Regions from separate parts of the Homo sapiens genome. Here all the other regions are linked to region 5. Evidence: promoter capture Hi-C in 16 types of primary human blood cells and fetal thymus (Javierre and others, 2016). All regions are on one chromosome and are shown on one strand. Each heading gives the region's core, a stretch centred on a gene start or on the middle of the fragment in contact. The rest is flanking DNA. Distances are from core to core; before and after follow the strand shown.

What was found. Contacts are between HindIII fragments. The CHiCAGO score rates a contact against its expected background, and 5 or more counts as called.
Region 1: a fragment that was not itself captured here is called in contact with the fragment with the promoter of SYK in region 5 in 3 of 17 cell types (megakaryocytes, monocytes and erythroblasts); the score reaches 8.2 in megakaryocytes.
Region 2: a contact is called between a fragment that was not itself captured here and the fragment with the promoter of SYK in region 5, in 5 of 17 cell types (neutrophils, monocytes, fetal thymus and 2 more). The highest score is 13.8, in neutrophils.
Region 3: a contact is called between a fragment that was not itself captured here and the fragment with the promoter of SYK in region 5, in 3 of 17 cell types (fetal thymus, megakaryocytes and total B cells). The highest score is 8.6, in fetal thymus.
Region 4: a contact is called between a fragment that was not itself captured here and the fragment with the promoter of SYK in region 5, in 4 of 17 cell types (neutrophils, fetal thymus, erythroblasts and 1 more). The highest score is 16.9, in neutrophils.
Region 6: a fragment that was not itself captured here is called in contact with the fragment with the promoter of SYK in region 5 in 2 of 17 cell types (fetal thymus and monocytes); the score reaches 5.8 in fetal thymus.
Region 7: a contact is called between a fragment that was not itself captured here and the fragment with the promoter of SYK in region 5, in 1 of 17 cell types (fetal thymus). The highest score is 5.3, in fetal thymus.

What each region holds. Positions count from the first base shown.
Region 1 is chr9:89,407,906-89,411,161 of GRCh38, forward strand. All of the region lies in intron 2 of SEMA4D (semaphorin 4D), which reads right to left. Among named protein-coding and RNA genes, the nearest start is that of SEMA4D, 89 kb to the right of the region's middle. RefSeq lists an enhancer at 2,892-3,051. The HindIII fragment of the contact is 1,340 bases long and covers 1,241-2,580 here.
Region 2 is chr9:89,557,194-89,560,500 of GRCh38, forward strand. No RefSeq gene overlaps it. Among named protein-coding and RNA genes, the nearest start is that of GADD45G, 46 kb to the right of the region's middle. RefSeq lists an enhancer at 2,387-2,556. The HindIII fragment of the contact is 1,120 bases long and covers 782-1,901 here.
Region 3 is chr9:89,307,363-89,310,813 of GRCh38, forward strand. It overlaps LOC105376136 (a long non-coding RNA gene), which reads right to left and starts at 3,440. Exons shown (of 3, transcript XR_930101.4): 1 at 2,004-3,440; 2 at 1,496-1,584. RefSeq lists a silencer at 3,139-3,368 and an enhancer at 3,379-3,451. The HindIII fragment of the contact is 2,628 bases long and covers 255-2,882 here.
Region 4 is chr9:89,574,195-89,577,586 of GRCh38, forward strand. No RefSeq gene overlaps it. Among named protein-coding and RNA genes, the nearest start is that of GADD45G, 29 kb to the right of the region's middle. The HindIII fragment of the contact is 2,103 bases long and covers 494-2,596 here.
Region 5 is chr9:90,800,526-90,803,948 of GRCh38, forward strand. It overlaps SYK (spleen associated tyrosine kinase), which reads left to right and starts at 1,294. Exons shown (of 14, transcript NM_003177.7): 1 at 1,294-1,368. RefSeq lists silencers at 1,043-1,252, 1,273-1,432. The HindIII fragment of the contact is 2,717 bases long and covers 492-3,208 here.
Region 6 is chr9:89,491,426-89,494,733 of GRCh38, forward strand. The region is part of intron 1 of SEMA4D (semaphorin 4D); the gene reads right to left. Among named protein-coding and RNA genes, the nearest start is that of SEMA4D, 5.0 kb to the right of the region's middle. The HindIII fragment of the contact is 5,004 bases long and covers 1-3,308 here.
Region 7 is chr9:89,428,001-89,431,397 of GRCh38, forward strand. The region is part of intron 2 of SEMA4D (semaphorin 4D); the gene reads right to left. Among named protein-coding and RNA genes, the nearest start is that of SEMA4D, 68 kb to the right of the region's middle. The HindIII fragment of the contact is 752 bases long and covers 875-1,626 here.

The DNA.
Region 1 (3,256 bases), core at 661-3,160, 1.4 Mb before region 5:
TCTGAGAGGCTTTTCCTCTGTATAACTGATTGGTAATTAGGAGTGGCTCCCAAAAGCTGCTCCACTTTGAGCTCCCAAACCAGTAATGGTTTCTACATAGGCTCCCAATGAAGAAGACTCAATAAATTATAGGTTCAGATCTTCTGAATTCCAGGCACATTTGCAGCTCCTTGCCATAATGGTGTCACTTTTTGTTTGCAAAACAGAAGTTGACCTACTTGGCCTACAAAGTTGTGAGAATTATCTGCTAAATCATATTACTATATAACTAATCAATTAGCATCTGATAATAATAATGTTTATTGCTCTGACAAATACGAATGGAGCTCCTGCTAAGCCTGGAACAAACAAGTCCTGGCCCCACAGAACCCACGCCCTGGAGTGGGGCTGCGTGGAAGCAACCAGCCCAGGGCCTGGCACCCACAAACATCCCATGCCCCTCCAGGGTCCTGCTGCCCTTGCTCTTCTCAGTCCTCATTGCATGCAATGACAGACATAAGAAAGGATGGTAACAGTGGTGACAAGCTATCCACAGTCCCTCAAGAGAAAAGCTCCCATTAAAAACCAGCTACCCCTCCTTTTGGAGCAATGATCCCCTGGCATTTTAAGGATGCGTCCTTTCTCCCGTTCCATGTGACAAACATCATACAGCCAGTGAGAGCCAGAAGTGACAACGTGGCCAGGCTGCCCCATCCCTTAAAGCAGAAGAGGACTGCACACTCGCATTGTGAGAGACTTCACACTGGCTCCCGCGCCACTAGAGGAGGAGGAGGAGGCAGGCCTGCGGCAGGCAGGGCCTTGGAAAGGGTTCTTGTCATGCATGCAGCAAGGACACCAGTGGCCTGGTCCATGTGCTGCAGTCCCAGCCCAGTGAAACCCAATGAACTGACATTGGCTCCTCCAAGCCACACCCAGACCCAGGTCCCAGCCAGTGCCAAGCTGTGCACAGCAAGGATAAAGCAGAAACAACCTCTCTCGTGGCATGTCCCCCAGCTGGGCAAAGGTCCATACACACAAAAGAAACAGCAATGAGCTGCCATGGGATGGGAGAAGGCGCTCTGAAGACGGATGCGGAGCCTGCAGAGGTAAGGCGTGCCAACCACACAGGAAGCCAGCCGTGGAGACAGCCCAGGGGCAGGCGAGTGGGTATACAAACCGCTACATCCAGACAGGGGAACGTTACTCAGCATTAAAAATAAATAAGCCATTAGGCCATGAAAAGACACAGAGGAACTTTAAAAGCTTATCATTAAAGAGAAAGAAGCCAATCTGTAGAAGTACATACTGCATGATCCCAACTATAGGACATTCTGGGAAAGGCAAAACCATGAAGACAGTAAAAAGATCAGTGGTTCCCAGGGGCTGGGGAGAGAGAGGGTTTTTAGGGCAGGGAAACTAGGCTGGCAGGGATACTACCACGGTGGACACATGTCAGTATGCATTTGTCCGAGCCTACAGAATGTACAACACCAACTGGCAATCCTAATGTCCAGATACAGATGTCGGGTGATAAGGTACCTATGTGGGTTCACCGACTGTAGCAAAGGCACCACTCTGTGGGGGGATTCTGAAAATGAGGGGGCTGTGCATGTGTGGGGAAGGAGCATATGGGAAATCTCTGTACCACCTTCTCAATTTTTCTATGAACCTAAAGTTGATCTAAAAAATAAAGTCTATTAAAATCAGTAACAACAAGGAACAGGCCTAGGAGTTCCTTGCCAGTCACAAAAGCAGCCTCTGTGAGGGTTCATGGCCTGGACACATTAAGGAAGTAAGTGCCCACACCGGAGGGCTAGGAGCAGAGACGCAAGACCCACAAGGCCCAGTTCATTTCGGGTCAAATACCAAAGATGCTGGATCACTGTTGGAGAGATATGGTTTACATGGGATCTAATTCCTATCTAGATCCCCCAACTGCAATCAGTCCTCTGCGTATCCCAATAAGCATGCTGGGGTCAGGCCAGGCTAAGAGTCCAGAGCCAGGAGATGGGAGAACACAGAGATTTATTTCAACTCTCTCTGGAAACCCAATGAAATGACTCTAAAAGGATATGAACTTTAAGGATAAAAATGGAGGAGGGAGGTGACTTTGGAATCTATTAATAGGTGAGCAGTAACCAACGGTGTGCTGGCAAGCTGTAACAACTGGCTCTCCACGGGGTGGGCAGTGGGGGTGGGCGGTGGGGTAAGGTGGGGGGTGCCCAGCTTGCAGCACACGCTGATTTCTGTGGTGTAAATGCTGCTTTCGAGCTCCCAGAATGATGCCGCTGAACTGGGGAGAGGTGCACAGCAGCACCCAGCACATGGCACTGCCATCTCAGATACAAGAGGCGAGTAACTGCAACCACACAGATAACAGTAGAATGCACACGATACTAGAAAGGAATGAGTTCTGAGTATTTTACCTTTTTAAATATAATTTGTTTCATTTTAAGTCCACATATTTAATTTTTAACAGTGGCTGTGTTTACCACCAACCCTGTCACACACCACCAGAGCTGACTGATTTGAATTTCAGACCAGAGTTGAGCCAGGGCCTGGAAGAAGTCACAAAGAAACACAACCTGGAAAATGGAAGCAAGCTTAAAAGTAAAATGTGGTGAAAGAAATGAAAGGCTGGAAAGTAAACTAAAGAGGTTTCCTAGAAGTTACACACGTAGCAGAGATGAAAAAAAGGGGAACAGACAACTGGACGATCCATTCAGGAGTCCCACATGAACTGGCAGGAGCTCCGGGAAAAAAAATGAGGAATTATTAAAGCAGTAATAAAAAGAAAATAACTAGAACAGAAGGACCTGAGCTTTCGGAATAACAGCGCCCAGGAGCACAGTGAATGAAAGGAACCCGCCCACACCAGACACATCATCCTGAAAGGAGGGTTACATGAGGCTTCCAGAAAGAAACAGGCCACAAAGAAATTACCTCTGAGTGCCCCACTGGAGGCAGCAAAGCAACGCCTTTGAATCCCAGGGAAGATGACTTCATACCTAGAATTCCCCATCTAGTCAAATTATCAATCAGTATGAGTGCAGTACAGAACACTGCTTCAAACCTACAAGTTCTCAAATGTTTTACCTCCCTCAGCTTCTTTCTCAGAAAGCTACTGCAGGATTTGCTCCACCAAAACAAGGGAGCTGCTTCCCAGGTCTTCTTTCTTAGGAAGCGAGTGGAGGAGAGGCAGAGAGAGCGGGGAGCTGGGGAGCAGGCAGAGGCTCCAATGGGGCGGGGCAGGAGAAGGCACAGTGGATTACTGATT
Region 2 (3,307 bases), core at 92-2,591, 1.2 Mb before region 5:
TATATACACACACACACATACATACATACACACATATATACATACATATATATATATATATATAAATTTGTTGTTGCTTTTTGAGATGGAGTCTCACTCTGTCACCCAGGCTGGAGAGCAATGGCATGATCTTGGCTCACTGCAACCTCCGCCTCCTGGGTTCAAGGTATTCTTCTGCCTCAGCCTCCCGAGTAGCTGGGATTACAGGCACCCACCACCACGCCTGGCTAATTTTTGTATTTTTTAGTAGAGACAGGGTTTCACCATGTTGGTCAGCCTGGTCACAAACTCCTGACCTCGTGATCCACCTGCCTCGTCCTCTCAAAGTGCTGGGATTACAGGAGTGAGCCACCACACCCAGCCTTTATATATTTTTGATGCCAATTCTTTGTCATAGTTGATCCTTATTCTTCGTGGATTCCATATTTCTGAATTCATTTACTTGATAAAATGTACTTATAACCCCTAAGTCAATACTGTGGACGATTTTGTGGCCATTTGTGGGCACACACAGAGCCCTGAGACATTGGAGTTGTCTGATGTGTGTGGCCCCAGCTGGGATGGACAGGGCAACTCCCCACCTTCTTGCTGCAGCTCCCACAGGGACGGTGAGTGTCCTTTTTACGGTCCATTTAGTGCCCCATTTTTTCACGTTTCTGTGCATTTTGTTGGGGATCTCATAGTTTGTAACAGCCCCGGCATGGTGCTGAAGCGCTGTCTGGGGCTCCAAAGTGCAAGAAGGCTGTGCTGTGCCTTATGGAGAAAACTGGTGTGTTAGAGAAGCTTCATTCAAGTGTGTTGGCTGCGAGTTCAATGTAAAGGAATCAACAGTGCTGATCAAATAAAGCATCTTTCAATAGAAACACACATCAAACAAGGTTATGCATTGATGGGTTGATGACAATGCTATCACCAGAGGCTCATAGGAACCTTCCCTTCCCTAAGAACCGTGGTTTGGTGTTCACTAAATTGGTGCTGAGGCATTTCACGGACTGTAACTACCACCAGTAATGAGAATCAACCCTGGACAGAGGCACTTCACAGACTGTAACTACCACCAGTAATGCGAATCAACCCTGGACGTTTTCTCCGGATAGGTGGCTTGCCTCCTCATTTTCTAAATGGTGTATTTTAATGAATAATAGTTTTATATTTTCATGAAAGTGACTTACCAATAGTTTCTCTTGTGGTTTTTGCTTTTTCCTGTGAAGCTGGCACATGTTCTCTTCTAGAAGATTTATAGCTTTAGTTTTTATTTTGGGTTTGTAATCCATTCCATATTTCTCTTTGTGTATGTATAGGCAGGGGACGAAGTTTATTTTTTTCCTATAGATATCTGTTCACATTGAAGCAAATCCAAGACAGTCTATCATATCCTCTGAACTCAGTACAGTATGTATCGCTGTGTTAGTTCAGGATGCTATAAAATACTATAGGCTGAGTGGCTGATAGACAACAGAAATGTATTTCTCACAGTTCTGGAGGCTGGGAAGTCCAAGATCAAGGCACCAGCAGGTATGGTGTCTGGTGAGGGCTGCGTCTGGTTTACCATGATGCCTTCTTGCTGTGTCCTCATGTGATGGAGAGTAGAGAGCTAGTGAATTCTCTGGGGCCTCTTTTATAAGGGCACTAATCCTGTTCATGAGGGCTCCACCTTCATGACCCAATCACCTCCCAGAGGCTCTGCTCCTAATACAATCACATTTCAGGTTAGGGTTTCAACATATGGTTTGGGGAGAGGAGGCACATTCAGTCTTTTGCACTAATGTATAAAAGTGTAAGATTCTATTGAATGCAATGCATATTAAAGGCCTGTGATCATAGCCTGCCTTCAGCAGAGGCTTGCTCTTGCCTCTGGTGTTAACAGCCAAACGTCCCTCACTACCCAGGCTTTTGGGGAAAGCTTTGGACTGGCTACATTCTCCAATTCACAGGCAGCTGCTCAGCAGGTTCTCTCCACCTAAGCTGTTATCTCTGGCCCCTCCCCTGTCCTTGCGGCAAATCCCACATGAAGTGTACAGCAGATAGTCAAAACATTATTTAATTCACAGCTTCTACTACTCTGAGTTTAGAATGGAGGAAACCCTTCTTTGTTAGGTGTTAATACTCTTATGATACTCATGTTGTTTGAATCAGCCTCTAAACTCATTCATTTATTCAACAAATATGTATTTACCTCCTACTATGTCCCAGGTACTGCACTGGTTTGGGTGTTGTCCAAGACAGATGAGACACCTGCTATCCTAGAGCTTCCATTCTTGTTAGGAAAAGACACTCTAAGCAATGAATGATACCCTTCACTACTTAAACTACAACAACGCTCTCATCATTAAAGTGCTTTAAACCATAAGTATAGGAGCCATTAGATTGCTCTACAAGGGGATTTGACCTCATCTGGGAAGGCAGGGAAATCTCTGACCAGCGAATTCTGAATTCTACCAGAGGAGGGGAATCAGCTAGATGAGGTAGGTGTGTGGGGGCAGAGGGCAGAGGTGGGGCTCCTGGTGCAGGGAGCAGCATGTGTAAAGACCCTGAGGTGGAAGGGACTCTGGGATGCCAGGACTGGAGCAATGGGAGGGTGGCGTGTGAGGGAACATTGTGCAAGGTGAGGCTGGGGGTGCTGCTAGGCCTCGAGGGCCAGTTCAAGGTCTTGCTTTATGTTTCAATTCGGCGTCGTCCAGCAGAACTTGCTGCACAGAGAGAAAACCTCTGTATCTGTAGTGACCAGTGTGGTAGCCGCATGTAACTACTGAGCCCTGGAAATGTGGTTAGTGTGACCAAGAAACTGAATTTTAGATTTTAATTAAATAAAATTTCAATAGCACATGCAACTTGTGGCTGCCAAGTTGGGCTTCATAGCTGTAGCACAACGGCAGGTCACCAAGAATGTAGACCAGGAAGATGACACCATCGGATCTGCATTTGTTACTGTTATTTGTCACTCACTGTGGCTCCATGCGGACAGTGTAAGGACCTGTGGAGATGTTGCCACAGTGGTGCTGGGGGTAAATAATGGCTGCATGATCTCGGAAAGATTCAAGAGATCTTCGGGAGTCAGAATAGTGGTGGCCTCTGATAGTGGGCAGGGAAGGGAGCTGGCAGGACTCCTTCTCAGGCTGCTGATATGAGAAGGACAAAGTTGGTGGGGTTCCCCGTCCCTTCCAGAGTGGGTGCCCAGTACTCGGGAGGAACAGGCTGTCTAGATGTGCAGCTGCAGGGCTCCAAGGAAAGACCTGGGCTGCCGGAATTTCTAAGAAAGTTAGGAGGAATTTCACCTGTGATGCATCAGTATGGAAATGCAACATGA
Region 3 (3,451 bases), core at 319-2,818, 1.5 Mb before region 5:
ATCTCTACTAAAAATACAAAATTAGCTGGGCATGGTGGAGGGCACCTGTAATCCCAGCTACTTGGGAAGCTAAGGCAGGAGAATTGCTTGAACACAGGAGGCAGAGGCTGCAGTGGGCAGATATCGCGCCATTGCACTCCAGCCTGGGCAACAAGAGTGAAACTCCATCTCAAAAAAAAAAAAAAAAAGAGAGACAATAACAAAATGCAAGATGTAGGCCCAAGTTTGAAAGCAGGGTTAAACAAACTATAAAAAGCTTTGGTGAGGCAGTCAGGGAAATGTGAGTCTAAAACAGCTATCAAAGAGTATTAAGGACGTCTAAGCGTAAGTATGATGTGGTTATGCATTTTTTAAAAAATTTTCCTGAGATGCACACCATAAACACAGAGATACACTGAAAAGTTTTATTTAGGAGTGAACTGACATATCTGAGATCTCTTCAGTAATATTCTAGAAAAAAAAAGTTAGAGAGGAACAGATGAAACATGATTGGCAAACGGTAATTGCTGAAGCTAAATGACTGGAACAAGTTGAGTATCCCTTACCCAAAACACTTGGGACCAGAAGTGTTTCAGGGTTTTTTGGAATCTGGAATATGGGCATTTTGTTAACCAGTTCAGTATCTCTAATAGGAAAATCTGAAATCTGAAGTGCTCCAATGAGCATATCCTTTGAGCTCATGTCAGTGTTGTTCAACGTTTTGGACTTTTGGAGCATTTCAGATTTTCAGATTAAAGATGCACAACCTGTACATGGGAGTTGATTCTATTATTCCATGTGTTTGAACTTTTCACAGTGCAGATGGTCCTTGACTTACAATGGTTCAACTTAAAATTTTTTTGACTAGTCAGGATGTAATCCCATTGTAAATTAAGGAGCATCTATACATTTATTTAAAAATATATCTCCCAGGAAGTTTTTTTCCCCCAGGTTCTGCCAGAAAGTAATTTCCTTGTCCATTTTCCTTAACAGTTTATTCACATTTTTGCCATCATAGTAATTATACCTAATTATTTACTCTTATTATACTGTGCCTAAAATTTACTTCTTATTGTGTGCTTATGTGCAAGGAACTCTGCTATGTGCTAGGCACTCCGTGGTGAACAAGACAGACATGGCCTCTACACTAGCTTCACAGAGTTGTTTTTTTTTTTTTTGAGACGGAGTCTCGCTCTGTCGCCCAGGCTGGAGTGCAGTGGCACAGTCTTGGCTCACTAACAGAGAGTATTTTATAGCGCAGATAGGGAGACAACCACCACCTAAGCAAACATGCAATTGCGACAGTGGGAGGGAAGCCCACTGGAGTCGGTGGCAAGGGCATAATGGGGAAATTGAAGAACTTTCTGTAGAGAAGTTGATTAAGGAAGGCCTTTCAGAAGATGAAATGCTTAATCTGAGACCTGAAGGATTCTATCATGTATGAACGAATGTTTGTGTCTGCTCCCAGCCACCAAATCATGCGTGGAAATTCCAGGCCGGGTGTTGTGGCTCATACCTGTAATTCTGTTACAGGAAAGGGGTCCAGTCCAGATCCCAAGGGAGAATTCTTGGATCTCGTGCAAGAAAGAATTCAGGGTGAGTCCACTGTGCAAAATGAAAGTAAGTTTATTAAGAAAGTAAAGGAATAAAAGGATGGCTACTCCATAGACAGAACAGCCGAGGGCTGCTGGTTGCCCATTTTTATAGTTATTTTTTGCTTATATGCTAAACGAGGGGTGTATTATTCATGCCTCCCCTTTTTAGACCATGTAGGGTAACTTCCTGATGTTGCCATGGCATTTCTAAACTGTCATGGCACTGGTGGGAGTGTAACAGTGAGGACCAAAGTCACTCTCTTCGCCATTTTGGTTTTGGTGGGTTTTGGCTGGCTCCTTTGCTGCAACCTGTTTCATCAACAAGGTCTTTATGACCTGTATTTTGTGCTGACCTCCCATTTCATCCTGTGACTTAGAATGCCTTAACTGTCTGGGAATGCAGCCCAGTAGGTTTTAGGCTCATCTTACCCAGCTCCTGTTTAAGATGAAGGTGCTCTGGTTCACTTGCCTCTGACGATCCCAGCACTTTGCGAGGCCAAGGCGGGCAGTTCACTTGAGGTCAGGAGTTCGAGACCAGCCTGGCCAAAATGATGAAAACCCGTTTCTACTAAAAATACAAAAACTAGCTGGGCCTGTAATCCCAGCTGCTCTGGAGGCTGAGGCAGAATGGCTTGAACCTGGGAGGGGGAGGTCGCAGTGAGCCAAGATCACACCACTGCACTCCAGCCTGAGCAGCAGAGTGAGACTGTCTCCAAAAAAAAAAAAGGGCGGGGGGTGGAATTCCAAACACCCTCTTCCCCCAAGAAGTGATTGTATTAGGAAGTTAGGAGGTGGGGCCTTCGGGAGGTAATCAAGATTAGATGGTCATGAGGGTGGGGCCCTCACCCATGGAGATTATAAATGTCCTTAGCCGGCCTGTCTCACTTGTTCAGAAACCGGAAAAGTCCGTGGTCTGCAGTGTGGAAAAGGGCACCCGGACCTCTTACTTCCAGCCTCTAGTCTGGAAACTTTGTCTAAGGTACCCCATCTACATTACTTAGTCACAGCCACCCTGAACCCACTAGCCTGTACTGCGCTGGAGCATTTCGCATAAAATGAAATTAACATAAAAATGACACGTGCTCGTTGTGGAAAAAATACCAAAAAGATCACTTTTAATTCTGTCATCTAAAAATAACCACCAGTTACATTTATAAATTTCTTCCAGTAACTTTTTTATATGAACATGTTTTTAAACTTGGGTCAATATTAAAAGACCAGAAGTTGTTAAACATCATTTTAAATCCCCTTATCCAGGAATTAGCATTGTTATTCTTGGCCGCAGCAGAATATTATTTTATTCCCTCAAGCTTTCCATGGCTTGGGTCTGCCCTGGTTTTGAACATTAGGTTAGGCTACAGAAAGCATTCTGGGTCTCTGGCCCATTTGTTTCTTTCTTTGTGGAGACGGGGTCTGGCTCTGTTGCTCAGGCCTGTCTGGAACTCCTGGGCTCAAGCGACACTCCACCTCGGCCTCCCGAGTGGCTGGGACCACTGGCGCCCGCCGCCACCGCGCCGGCTCCGGGCCTCTCTCTACGCGTGGCTCCGCAGGCTCCATTCTCCACACAGTCGTCTAGGGGGGCGCCAGGAGCCCCGCGACGGGCCAGGCCGGAAGCTCAGCAAGTGCACCAGGCGGCGAAACGGCCGGCTGCGCAGGGCAGCCCCGGACACAGCCACGCCGCGGCCGCCCGGCGCTCCCCCGACCCAGCCGACCACGAAGCCGCCCTCCCCCTCACACCGCAGAACCTTTCTGCCTTTTACTACTTTTCAAAGTGGACCTAGGCTCCTGGCTCGAGCCTGAGGGGATACAAGGGATCACGAGGAGCGCCATCACCGTGCAAGGTCGACAGCTTCCGCTCAAAGCCCTGTGGCCCACGC
Region 4 (3,392 bases), core at 295-2,794, 1.2 Mb before region 5:
GACATATACTCTTGGGGGAAAACTTACAGAAAATTATTGGTAATACAAATTTAAAAAATGGAAAATAGCATTGGAAACTGCAACACGTTTTGGGGAAAATTTCTGAATTAAGACAGTACAATTTTAGTTATCACCAACGAAATACAGTTTCATAGCAGAGGTATATTGTATTAGCCTGCTCACACTTATAACAAAATACCACACACCATAACAAAATACTGTAGATGGAGTGCCTTAGACAACAGAAATGTATTTTCTCACTTCTGGAAACTGTAAGTCCAAGATCAAGGTGCTGGCAAGGTTGGTTCCTGGCGAGAGCCCACTTCCTGGGTTGCAGCGGCTGCCTTCTCAATGTGCCCAGGGGTGGGGGGAAGTCTCTTCATCTTCTTATGAGGGCAGTGATACTGTCATGAGGACCCTACCATTGTGACCTCATCCAACCTTCATCTCTCCCAAAGGCTCCACTTTCCAAATACCATCCCACTAGGGGTGAAGCTTCGACATTAGAATGAAGAGGAAGGCATAATTTAGTCGGTAGCATATATTACTATCTAGTCTTTCAAGAGGAGATAATTCTATGGCCGGGGGTTGGGCACTGCCTCTTTGGAAAGCTCAATGTATACATGCCCTGTGACCTAGCAAGTCTGTGCTCAGATATGTGCACCTGTGCACCAGGAGAGACAAAAAGAATGGTTACATTTGCACTGTTTGTATTGTAAAAAAGTGGATGATGTAAATATCCATTCACAGAAGAATGAACAATTTAGGGTATGTGTCTACAACAGAACCCTTTAGGCGGTTACACAAATGCATCTAAAAATGGTAGTGTTCTTTGTAAGAAGGCAAGTTGCAAAATAATGTCTTCTGGCTGGGTGCAGTGGCTCACGCCTGTAATCCTAGCACTATGAGAGGCCGAGGAGGGCAGATCACCTGAGATCGGGAGTTCAAGACCAGCCTGGCCAACATGGTGAAACCCCACCTCTACTAAAAAGACAAAAATTAGCTGGATGTGGTCACGCATGCCTGTAGTCCCAGCTAGTCTGGAGCCCAAGGCGTGAGCGTCACTTGAACCCAGGAGGCAGAGGTTGCAGTGAGCTGAGATTGCGCCACTGCACTCCAGCCTGTGTGACAGAGCCAGACTCTGTCTCAAATACAAAAAAAGATGCATTCCATATGATGCCAAGTATACAAAGTAAAAAAAAAGGCATGCACCGCAATGTATTCTATTAGTAATGTGTGCATACATTTGTAGTATTTAGATTAACTTCAATTGTATGAACAAGTTCTAAAAAGATACTGTACTAATTTTTGACTGGAGTTTCATAAAACATCTAAGATAAATGCAGTTTTTCTATTAAGAAATAATATATATCTTACCAAAGAAAACTTTTTTGTACCTCAATCAGTAAATTTTGATGGTTTTCTTCCTTAGTTTGTCTATATTGCTTTAAAGATCATAGGCATTTAATGTATTTTTATTTCTGCTATTATTAATGGAATATCTCCCCCATTATAGCTTATATTCTGTGATTGCTGTGTTATAGAAAAGTTATTAATGGGCCAGGAGGGGTGGCTCATGCCTGTAATCCCAGCACTTTGGGAGGCTGAGGCTGGTGGATCATGAGTTCAGGAGTTCGATAACAGCCTGATCAACATGGTGAAACCCCATCTCTACTAAAAATACAAAAATTAGCCGGGCATGGTGGCTTGTGCCTGTAATCCCAGCTACTCCGGAGGCTGAGGCAGGAGAATCGCTTGAATCTGGGAGGCAGAGGTTGTAGTGAGTTGAGATCTCACCATTGCACTCCAGCCTGGGGGACAGAGCAAGTCTCTGTCTCAGGAAAAAAAAAAAGAAAAGAAAAGCTATTAATTTTGTAACGTTTAATCTTATACATAATCACTTGATGCATATATGAATTTTAAGATGATTAGCTGTGTTTTGAGTGTTATTCCACTATCCTCCAGTTGTGATAGTTTTATTTCCTTCTTTTACATAATTACACATCTTATTTCTGTTTTATTTATTTTTAAATATTTTGCATTGACTGAACATTCTGGACAAATGGTAAATAATAATTTTCACAACAGGTAATTTTTTTTCCCTAATAGAAATGGGAATGTCTTTAAAGTAGATTTTTGTTGTTGCCCAAATGTAGGTAATAATCTCCCCTTCTTAGGGCTTTCAACTTTTCCTATTGCTAATAGATATTAAATGTTATAAAATTACTTTTGGGAAATAATTTTTTACTGGACTTTTTTTATCTTAAACTGGTAAGCCAGAATGATATTGTAATTGTGGAATTAGACCACTAGATGGCGGTGTGCACCTATTTTTTTGCTTTGGGACCCTTAAATTGTTTATTGTTAAAATTTAAACCTTTTAAATAGGGGTGTCCAATCTTTTGGCTTCCCTGGGCCACATTGGTAGAAGAATTGCCTTGGGCCACACATAAAATCCATTAACACTAATGATAGTTGAAGAGCAAGGAAAAAAAAAAAACACCTCATGATGTTTTAAGAAAGTTTACAAATTTGTGTTGGTTTACATTCAAAACCGCCTTGGGCCTCAGGCGGTCTGCCAGCTGAGGGTTGGACAAGCTTGTTTTAAATTAACATAATCCACAAACTATCATCTTCCTTTCGACTTTCAATTTAGTGATCTTAAATTAGGAATATGCTTAAAAATACTTCTTGTCTCTCCTGTATTGAGTCAGTTTTATTGGGGTATAATTTATACCACAATAACATTCAACAATTTTAAGGATACAATACAGAGAGTTGTAACAAACACATTCAGTCTTGTTTCCACCACCACACTTGTAATAGAGAACATTGGCATCACTCCAGTCACTTCCCTCGTACCTTCCCTGCCTGCCAGCCCCTGGAAACCACTGATGGGTTTTTGCCACTTGACCTTTTCTAGAATTTCGTATTAGTGGACTCATACAGTATATAGCCTCGTGTAGGTGGCTTCTTTTCCACAGCCCCTTGCTTTTAGGATTCATCCATGTTGTTAAGTGATTCAGTAATTTCTTCCTTTTTATTGTGGACTAGTGTTCCATTGAATGGCTTTACAACAGTTTGTTTACTCATCCAACCACAGTGAACATTTGGGGTGCTTCTAGCTTTGGGATATTATGAACAAAACTGTTACAAACATTTACACAGAAGTCTTTCTGTTGACGTGTATTTTCATCTCTTGGTAAATACCAAGCAGTGGCATTGCTGTGTCATGTGATGAATATATGTTTTAACTTTCTAAGAAACTGTTTTCCAAAAGGTTTTCTGAGGTGGCCACAGCATTTTATGCTCTCCCCTGCCATGTGTGAGAGTTCCAGTCTCTGCACGTCTTCACCAGCACTTGTCATTACCAGTCTTTTTAATTTTGGTGA
Region 5 (3,423 bases), core at 44-2,543:
AGGAGTATGTGCCTTTAACAATAGCTGAGTCTTGGCCAATCCCAGTGGCCATACTTCAACCATTCATACACTGCTGAGTGTTCAAACTGTGTTCAAAGAAGGCAAAAGCCAACCTGTAACCAATCCAGTTGTTTCTCTGCCTTACCTCCAATTTCTGTATGTCACTTCCCTTTTTTTGTCTATAAATATGTTCTGACCATGAGGCATCCCTGGAGTCTCTGAATCCGCTGTGATTCTGGAAGCTGCCCCATTCGCAAATCATTCATTACTCAATTAAACTGCTTTAAATTTAATTCTGCTGAAGTTTTCTTTTAACAGGTTTAGAAAAAATAATGGCAAAAATGAATGAAAATCCAATAACCCTGGAAGCAGAAAAGGCTGGGGGCTCCAATAAGTGTAAATAGTCCCATCCCTATATTTTCTCCATGGCAATTACAATCCAGCACATTATATATATATTTTTTTGCTTCTCGCATTTTGGCTTAGGGTAAAGCTTTTTAAAACAGGCACTGCCAACCAGTGTTATCAAGAAGGTCTGGATGCCGTTTTGTGGGAACATTTTAAAGAGGAATGTCCAAAAGGAAAAGGGGGATGGGTTGGGAGAAGGGTATCAGGCGGGTATCTCAAAACCATTCTTAGGGCTATAGGTTTAATTTATTTGGTTGTGGACGTCAGAGCCGTCATGGTAAGAAGGAAGCAAAGCCTTTTGTAATAATTAAAGCCTTCAGAAGCAGCGTGCCCCATTGCCCACTAGTGCGCCGTGAAGTCTGGTGTTCACCTACAGGGTCCCTCTCAGCACTGCCCAGGCCTCCCGAGTGCTCCAGCACAGTAGCTTGGAGCTTGTTGGTTTGGTGACCAAGATACACTCCAGGGAATATGCCATGCAGTGGAGTCTCTTCCCCGGCACTGCATAGCAAAAGGAAAGGGCCGCTGGGTGTCTGTGGGTCCTGGGCAGTCACAGAAGCCACCGCGCTGGCGGGGAGGAGGGGGACCGATGCGGTCCATGTCCCGGGCAGCCCCACCTTCTCTGCCTGCGAAGGGCCCTTGTCCGGCGGGAGGAGAGAGGCGCGCCCCACCCGGGCTCCTCTACACCTGCCGCCGCCTGGGCCGATTCCGCGGGCCTCGCCCGGCGCTTCAGCCGATTCCCGCCCAGCTCCGGGCTCATGGGCGCGGTCAGCAGGGCGGGCCAGGGCGGCGGGGCGCGACACTGGGAGGAAGTGCGGGCCGCCTGCCCGGGCGCGTTAAGGAAGTTGCCCAAAATGAGGAAGAGCCGCGGGCCCGGCGGCTGAGGCCACCCCGGCGGCGGCTGGAGAGCGAGGAGGAGCGGGTGGCCCCGCGCTGCGCCCGCCCTCGCCTCACCTGGCGCAGGTAGGTGTGGCCGCGTCCCCTACCCGGCCGGGACTTTCTGGTAAGGAGAGGAGGTTACGGGGAACGACGCGCTGCTTTCATGCCCTTTCTTGTTCTACCTTCATCGGCCGAGGTAAAAGTGCTGAAACCATGTGAATAAAATACAGGTGGGTTCCGCCAGCTTCGCTCCTGAACCTACCCGCGCTCGGGATCCAGAAGCTGCGCCGGGAGAGAGGGGCTCAGGCCTGGGCGGAGGGGACGGAGGTCAGACCGTGCGGAAAGTGACCCGGGCACCCCAGGGCGCCCAGGCCCCCAGGGAGCGCGGAAAGTGCGGTCGCGGCCCGGCCCTCGGGAGACGCGGGATTGGGATCAGGCACAGCGCGAGGAAGTCGATCTTGGAGCTAGAACATTTTCCTTTGGCCATTTACACGAATCCACTGGAAAATGCCGCAGTGTTTATCAAAGTTACTCAAAGTAGAAATGTCCAGACGTCTTATGAGCTTAGACAAATCTTTTACTACAAAAAGAAACAGCAGTTGCATTCAAACAACAACCCTTCTGAACCACTACTAAAATTTAGCATAATTACTCTTGTGGATACATTTTCATTGTCAAGTAATTTACTTAGCCAATGAACTTGGAGAGCAAGAAAGTTTTATGTAGTAAAATGTAAATTTGAGTTAAGAGTTAAGGGTGTTTCTTTTTGTCTGTTTGTCTGTTTTTGGCAATGTGGCTCCAAAACCTTAAGCCCACCTAAAAACTATATAAATGCAATCCATTCTTTTGTTGGAATGTTCAAGGACTAGAAAGACAATTGGAGAAGTGAGAGTTTGAATCTTTTTTTACGTTGGAAACAGTGTTGCAAAATATTTTTTGAGTTTTGCCTGACTTAGCAAAGATTCAGTCGAACTCAAGTAGAGTTCAAAGCATTGCAGCGTGTAGTAAAAAAAAAAAAGAGTTGAAGATGTTGTGCCATATCTGATTCTTGGTATTAAAAATAAAAAAAGGAACCATTTAATCCCTAAGAGTTCCTGGAAGAAATGGAATTGATTCTACCATCTGACTTCTTTGTCTTAGTAGGGACAAATTCATTGCCTTCACACAGGCAGCATTTTAATTAAATGCAACTAAATACATTGATGTCCTCCTTCTCCCCAGTGAAAGTCCGAGCAGTGCATAGATAGAATTATATTTTCTCAAAAAGGCTTAAATACATGTAAATTATTAAGTGTTTTAAGTGAGAAATCTTTGTCAGTTGAAATTATTTTATCAAATCATTTTTGTTCTGAACGGCACTTTTGTTTTAACGTATTTAGAAAACTCTTGCATTAAAACAGAAATTGATTTGTATTATCCCCTGTATTTGAAGTGCACTTTAAAGTGTATTTGAATGAGAGATTATAATCAAATTACTTGATTTGTGTCTTATCCTCTTACTCTTCTACCTTGGATTTGAAAAGGTTGGATTTGAACACTAGGAAAAAAGAGATTTTTCTACTGAGGGATTGTGGGAAGATTTTTTTTTAAGCCTCTGTATTTGAAGTGAAATATAAAATAGGATTTTATAATAGTCTTAATAACTAGAAAGTTTTAAGCTAGGATAAAAATGGGGTGTATACTTTAGGTCTTTATCTTTCCTGAGAGATGAAATTGGTAGAAACGTTATTTTATTGCTAGATTTCACTTTAGAAATGAATCACCCTGATCTTTGTTAGGCCCCTATTTAATATTCTAAATGCAGGTCTAATCTCTCTGCTTTTTTTTAATGGAAGACTTCTTAGTAGAACTTCACTTATTTAGCACATTGTTTGCCCATGGTTATAATCCAATATGCTTGTGCCAAGACGTATTTTGGAATTCAAGCTTTTTCAGAATTTGGAATTAAAATTTAGAATCTAAATTTCAGAACTGAGAAAGACATTGCTCAGAATTTAGAAAGGTAAACATACATGTTGACCCTGCTGGTTACATGCCATTCCAATATAGTCTGGAGAGAATCCTGTAATTCCATGCATTAATATTTCTGTACTTTTACATTTAAGAACATGAATATTCTCACTAAGTGGAATAAATAAA
Region 6 (3,308 bases), core at 809-3,308, 1.3 Mb before region 5:
CGGGCATGGTGGCGTGTGCCTGTAGTCCCAGCTACTCAGGAGGCTGACGCAGGTGAATGGCTTGAACCCACGAGGCAGAGGTTGCAGTGAGCTGAGATCACACCACTGCATGCCAGCCTGGCGACAGAGCAAGACTCTGTCTCAAAAACAACAACAACAACAACAACAACAACAAACAGATGGCTGGTCCCACCCCACAGTTCCAGATGCCAGGGAGACTCTGCATTTCCCAGGGGTGCAATGCCGCTGGTGCGGGGACCACTCTCAGAGAAGCACACTCCCATTCCTCCAGCGTTCAGTCCATGTGGAACTGAGAGTCAGTGTTGCAGGCAAAATGCAGGCCATCCCTGCCCGGCCTGGAGACAATGCCAGCACTCACTAAGGTGATGAGGAAAATGCTCACAGTCCACCAGCGATGGGACAGCCCCATGCATCTGTGGGCCCCGGGGCCAAGAGGAGGCACAGCACACACCGAGAGTCAACAGCAGCTCATGGGGATCCTTCACCAAAGGGGCGGCCCCAGCCAGTCTCTGTCCCTCCCACCCACCTCACGGCTTCCTCCCACTCTGCTCCATCCTTCTCTTCAGGATGCAACCCTTCCAAGCGGGCCTCCCTCAGCCCTATCTGCCCATGACCCCCCTCCACTTCCCCACTGCCCTTCACGGCAGCAAAATTCTTGAAAAAGCAATAGGGTCCTGCTGTCCCAAATTCCCCTCCTTCCTTCTCTCAAGAAACTCACCCCATACTTCAGCCCACCATCCCAGACCACATGGATAAACCCCAGGTTGTCTTCGGTTCTCACCTTCGTGACCTCCGCTGTCACCCTCCCTCTCATGCAAGCTGCATGTGGCCTCCAGGATGCCCTCAGAACCCTCTGGTTATCCCCTACCTCGCTGGCCGCACCTTCTTGGTTTCTTGTTCCAGGCTCAGTCCTCGGACCTCTTCTCTTTTCCATCTACCTCAACTCCCTAGTGGTCTCATCCAAACTCCCTTTCAAAATGTCATCTCTATAGCTACAATATATTGCCAAGATTAGGGTCCCAGCTCAGAGCACTCCCCCAAACTCCAGATCCCTTCCTCCAACTTCCTCCTCCCCACCTCCACTGGGACACTTCAGTAGGACTCTCACCTGTACTATCTTGAGAGCCACACCATCCCTCTGAATCCTCACAACTCCTCCCCTGAAGACCTCAGTCTCAGAGTGATGGCAACTCTACCCTTCCAACACCCGATCCAAGACTCTTGGGTCATCCTGGACCCCTTGCTTGCTGCAACAGCCCTCATGGGATCCATCACAGTCCTGTTGGCTCCGTCTTCGCAGAACACCTGCAATCAGCCTGCCTCCCACCCGAGGAGACTGCCCGAGCTCCTGCAAGGCCCGCCCCGCACCGCCCTCCTACCATTGCTCATGTGTGCCTAAGTGTCCCCTCACCACTCCTCACCTCCCCTACATCTAGGGCTCAGCAAGGCACAGGGGCCACCTGATTTTAAATCACAACCACCCTCTCAACAAACCACTGGCCCCTTAAGCGGCTGGACCTAGAACTATCTATCTCCCCTCTCATTAGCCTCCCATCTCCCTCCACTTGACCATATTCCCCGGCACCCCAGCCATGACTGACATTCAATACGTGTTTTCTGGGGAAGCAGTGAAACTTCATCAAGTGGACAAGTGCAAGAGTTGGGAGGGCCCTGAAAGGTAAGCAGTTCCTTCAGGTCAGGAACCTAAGACAAAGGAGCATCACCCACCAGGGACCAAACGTGCCAGCACTGTGACCTGCCCAGATGGCTCAGCTCCTTGTGGGCCCTCAGAAGGAGGGGGCTATACAGGATAAGTGTGATCCAGATGGGGGAAAAGAATGTGCATCCACCCACTGGGTGGTTCTGTGCAGGCGCAAAGGCAGGCGGCTCCTGGCAGCACAACAATGAACATGTGCCAAGACCCTCAGCCCTCAAAGATGGCCCAGGGCTCAGAGCCCCGCCACAGCCCTGCTGCAGCACTGGGCTGTGCCCTCACAGCACATGGGACACACCGGTCAGGAACAACAACAAACAAAAGCTCCTAAACTCACAGTGAGAACCAAGTGGGTCAATTGCAGGCCTAACGGGAAACTTTCTGTCCTTCCAAACAAAGTCAAAACACACACACAAATCAGAAGGCCTAACAAACACCCACATTCTACATCAAGGCAAATTACGTTCTGGCTGCTCAAGCAACTCTAATTTCTTGCAACAGATCAGGAAAATACAAAAACTGTTACAATTCTAAGCAATTTCTACTTTTTACTTTGTAGACTTCTATGCAGCACGCATCACTTATGTTTTTGCTATAGCTTTAGGTTACTTAACATATCCTTTACTAAATGGAAGAAGAAAACAAAGACACCACAGGAAATGCTGGAACAAGCCCCAGGTCCAGGTCAGCCAACCAGCAATGGGGACCCCTCTGGCGCAGGCTCCAGACCAGACTTGGCCTTTGTTTCTGTACTGAGTGTAAGGATAACCCTTCTGTGGCTGGATTGTACTATTATTTAATTGTCAGGGTCTTTGTCTTGTCTCCCCTAATGCTGATAGTAGCATATTGATTTCTATCCTTCATAGCCCACAAAGCACATATTCAGAGGATCAATAACTATTGATTCATTGATTGCCTCATGGAAGCCAATTCATCTGTTATTAAGACGTGTAGAAACATGAACTTCCACAAATCAAATTCTATTTAAAACGCCAGAGGAAAGTATATGACCTAATGAAGACCACTTTTTGAAAATTCATTTTGATATTCCAAAAATAATTCCTTGTAACAGAAACAAACCATACATAAGTACAAAAAGAAGACAAAGTATAGGTTCCCTCTTCCTCTTCCCTCTCCTCCCCCAACACACACTCACTCACATTCACACACGCCCCACCCTTTGCTAACTGTGGAGTGCTGCTTTCACTCAGGGCTGAGTCCCTAGAGCCTGGGGCAGCGCCTGGCACCAGGTCCACATAGGCGGCTCCATAATGATCTGCTGAATACCAGGTGTGTGTCCTTCCAGATGGGCTTCCGTGCTGAGCGCCTGCACTTGTGCATGGAGAGGGCACATTCTCTATAGTCTACACTAAGGAGTGACATTTCTACTTAATAGATTGGCATATCTTTTAAAGTAAACCTTTGAATGATGCCATCATGAAGTAAAGAATCCAATGGCATGTTTTACAGGGAGGAATTGGAGATCTCCGATTATTATTAACTTTTCATGATGGAGAATTTTCAAAGTGCATGCAAGTAGGCAGAACAGAACAAAGAACCCAGGTACTCTCAT
Region 7 (3,397 bases), core at 1-2,500, 1.4 Mb before region 5:
TGTGGAGGGCCCGCCTGGCCCTGAGGGGTGGACTCTGCCCTGTAGGCGTGGGTGGCTTAGGGCTGACCTGAGACGCTGGCTCCAACACCCAGGCCCTTCTCACCTGCGTGTGTCACTGAGGGCCTGCTGCTGTCCGTCTGACCACCGCTGACCTGTCATGGAGGGATACGGCCCCCACACTGAACAATTCCCTGGGCAGGCTCTTCCCAACCATCTCAGTGGTCACAAGTTGAGGACCACCACTGGCCACCAGCTCCAGGCGGCCCCCGCCATGGCCCATGCAGCTTCCTTCTGGGCCTCACATTCGATGCTGCCCAGCACTGCCCAAACACAGTCCCTGGCCCTGCAGGGGAACCTGAACTGGAAGGACGAGGGCAAGACCCATATGACCTGCCAAGAGCCCAGTGCCATGCCCCAGCCACCAGAGAGGGTGCCAGGCGGCAGCAGAGGGGAGGCACACATCCTCCATTGCAGCCAGCGTGGATCTCAGGGCTACAAATAGCCAGTCACAGGAACTCAGAACCACGAGGAACCGGCCCCTTCATCACAGGCAGGAGGAGAATGAGGCACAGGCATGGAGCCTGCTCAAGGTCACGGAGCCTGCTCAAGGTCATGCAGCGCAGGCCAGCTCCCAGCCACTCTGCACACGGCCTGGCCCACTGTCTCCAAGACTGCTTTCTCCTGCACCAGGGCAATGGCCCCCGGCCCCACCTACAGGACCATGGTGCACACGGCCAACCCACCTCCAGGGGCAGGGTGACAGACATCCCCCAGAAGAGCAAAAAACCAGATCCCAGTATGGGCTGGCCATAGGGAAATACGCAAGAAAGCAGCCACTAGGTCCCCATCTCCACCTTGTCAGCAGCCAGCGCAAAGCTTCTCTAGGGCTCTGCCCCCTGGGTCCCTCAGGGCCCCTGGACCCTGCCAACCACACCACTGCAGGCTCCGCATGACTGCTCCAGAGGTCCAGAAGACAGACAGGATGGACCTAGGTCCCTGTGGGGGGGGTCTCCCCTTCCACGCTCACTCCTGGCCTTGGGTCACAGGCCCACTAAGCGGTTCGTCCAAGAGTGCGAAGAGTCAAGCACAGCCCCCAGCTCCTTCCCCAAATGCAGGTTACCCACGGGGCAGCCTGGGCATGGGCACTGGACAGAAGTGGCATGTAGCCTGGCTCTCCTAACCTCCCTGCCCAGTCAGCCCTCCCAGACCCACCACCAGGAGTTGTACCAGGCCGGCGGCCACCTCGGCTGACTCTGGATGCCAAGAAGCCTCTAATCCTAGCTTCACCCAAAGCAGACGACATCTAGGAGAGCATCGACATCCCCATCAGGGTGAGCGCCTTCTTGGGGCCAGGAGAGGGGGCTGTGAAGACAGTAATTCAGGTCACCCAGCAACACTGTCACCATCCCTCTTTTGCAGCTAAGAAAGCAAGGCTTGGAAACTTCCGGAAGTCATATCAGTGTTGGGGGGTAGGGGGCAGTGTCTGACACTACAGGCATGGAAAGCAAAGTTCCCCGCCCTGCATCAGAGACAAACTCAGGTGGGCCAAAGCAAGTTCCTGAGCACACCTGGGCTGAGCTGTGCTCATTCAAATCGGTTTCTTAACAGAATCTCAAGTTCATCTCAAGCTTGGAGCCTGGTGAGCACTTCATGAAGAGCAGGTTCCTGGGTCCCAGCCGGGTGACAGTGGCCGAGGGACGTACCCGACCTCCAGAAGCCCGGGAAGCATGCTGTTCCAGAGAAGTGCACGCTGCTAACAGCCCATTCCAGAGCGCATGGTGCAATAATTTTTTGCTAGCTTTAAAAAGCAGCACAAGAAAGAAATTACGCGGTTTGCAAACTGAAGTCTACATGGTGGATGGAGTGGCCAGTTACGTGCTCAGAAGAATGCAGCTGTGGGTTTCTGTTTGGGGTCAAGCTTTGCCAAATAGTAGCACTCTGAAAATGCACATAACAAGAAAACCTCATTAAAAACTCTGTAACCCTAAAACCTGTATCAAAGCCTCCAAAGCTGCTGCTTAACCCTGACGGGCAGCTCTGTGGGTGGGAGCGGTCACAAGCCTGGCTGAGGAGGACGGGCCTCAGGCTGGGATGGCAAGTCATGCCCAAAGCATCTGCAAATGACAGAAAGTTCTGGAAATATTTCACACAGGGAAGGGAATTACTGGACGGTCAGAACATACACCACAAAATTTCAGAACTAGGAGGAAGTTTTCAGCAATACTCTCCCACTTGGGGCCAGAAACTCCAAGCATCTGTCCCTGCTCCCCAGCAGCCAAAGAGCAAACCCTCCAGACAGCTCCCCAACCACATACACACTGTGTCAAGGGGCCTGGACCCCACTTACTGGGTGAGTTAGATGCCCTCCAAGCTTCAGAGGGAGACAACTGACTGTGACTGCCTCTCTAGGGGTGGCTATTGTCCAGACGCAAAACCCACCCAGGGCAGGAGCCTGCAGAGGGGCAGCAGCCAGGCTCGGAGGACAAACAGCCAACATCTTCCCAGGCAGGGAAGAGGACCAGCCACAGTTACTGGGGAGGGGGAAACTGGCCTCTGATGTCTACAGAGTCTAACAGGTGTATTTCCAAGGCCTCAGCAACCCCGCAAGCTCAGAGAGATGCCCTGCCCAGGGATGTTTATCTCCATGGTGCCTTATCAGTAAAAATCTGTCATCCAAATATGCACCATCAGATGGGCCGAGCGTGGTGGCCCAAGCCTGTAATCCCAGCACTTTGGGAGGCCAAGGCGGGCAGATCACCTGAGGTCAGGAGTTCAAGATCAGGATGGCCTACATGGCAAAACCCCATCTCTACTAAAAATACAAAAATTAGCTGGGTGTGGTGGCTCGCGCCTGTAATCCCAGCTACTCAAGAGGCTGAGGCAGGAGAATCGCTTGAACCCGGGAGGCGGAGGCTGCAGTGAGCCAAGATCATGCCACTGCATTCCAGCCTGGGCGACAGAGCGAGACTCCATCTTGAGGGAAAAATACCAAAAAACAAATAGGCACCCATCAGAAACAGGTTAAATTAACAATAATATTATAGCATGCTATGCCGGCAGTACAATCCACACAAGTCGATGTTTATTGACAAATACAGATAAACATTCTATTAAATGCAAAGAGGAGAAGATAAAACAGCACTTAAGTGCAAGCTTACTCATGTAAAAAACCCAGTCATAAAAGGTCACACCCAGGGAATGGCCTGACTGGCACGTTCCAAGCTCACTCCCAGGCTGACTCCTAACCCTGGCGGCTCCTGCTCCTGCTCCTGCGGGTGAGCCACCCGGGGCACACCCAGGGCTGGCTAGAACACCACCTGCAAATGCAGGTAGAGCAACCTCCAGGAGGAGGGACACCAAAATGCCAGAACTAATTCTGGGAGGTGGAATTTTAGGG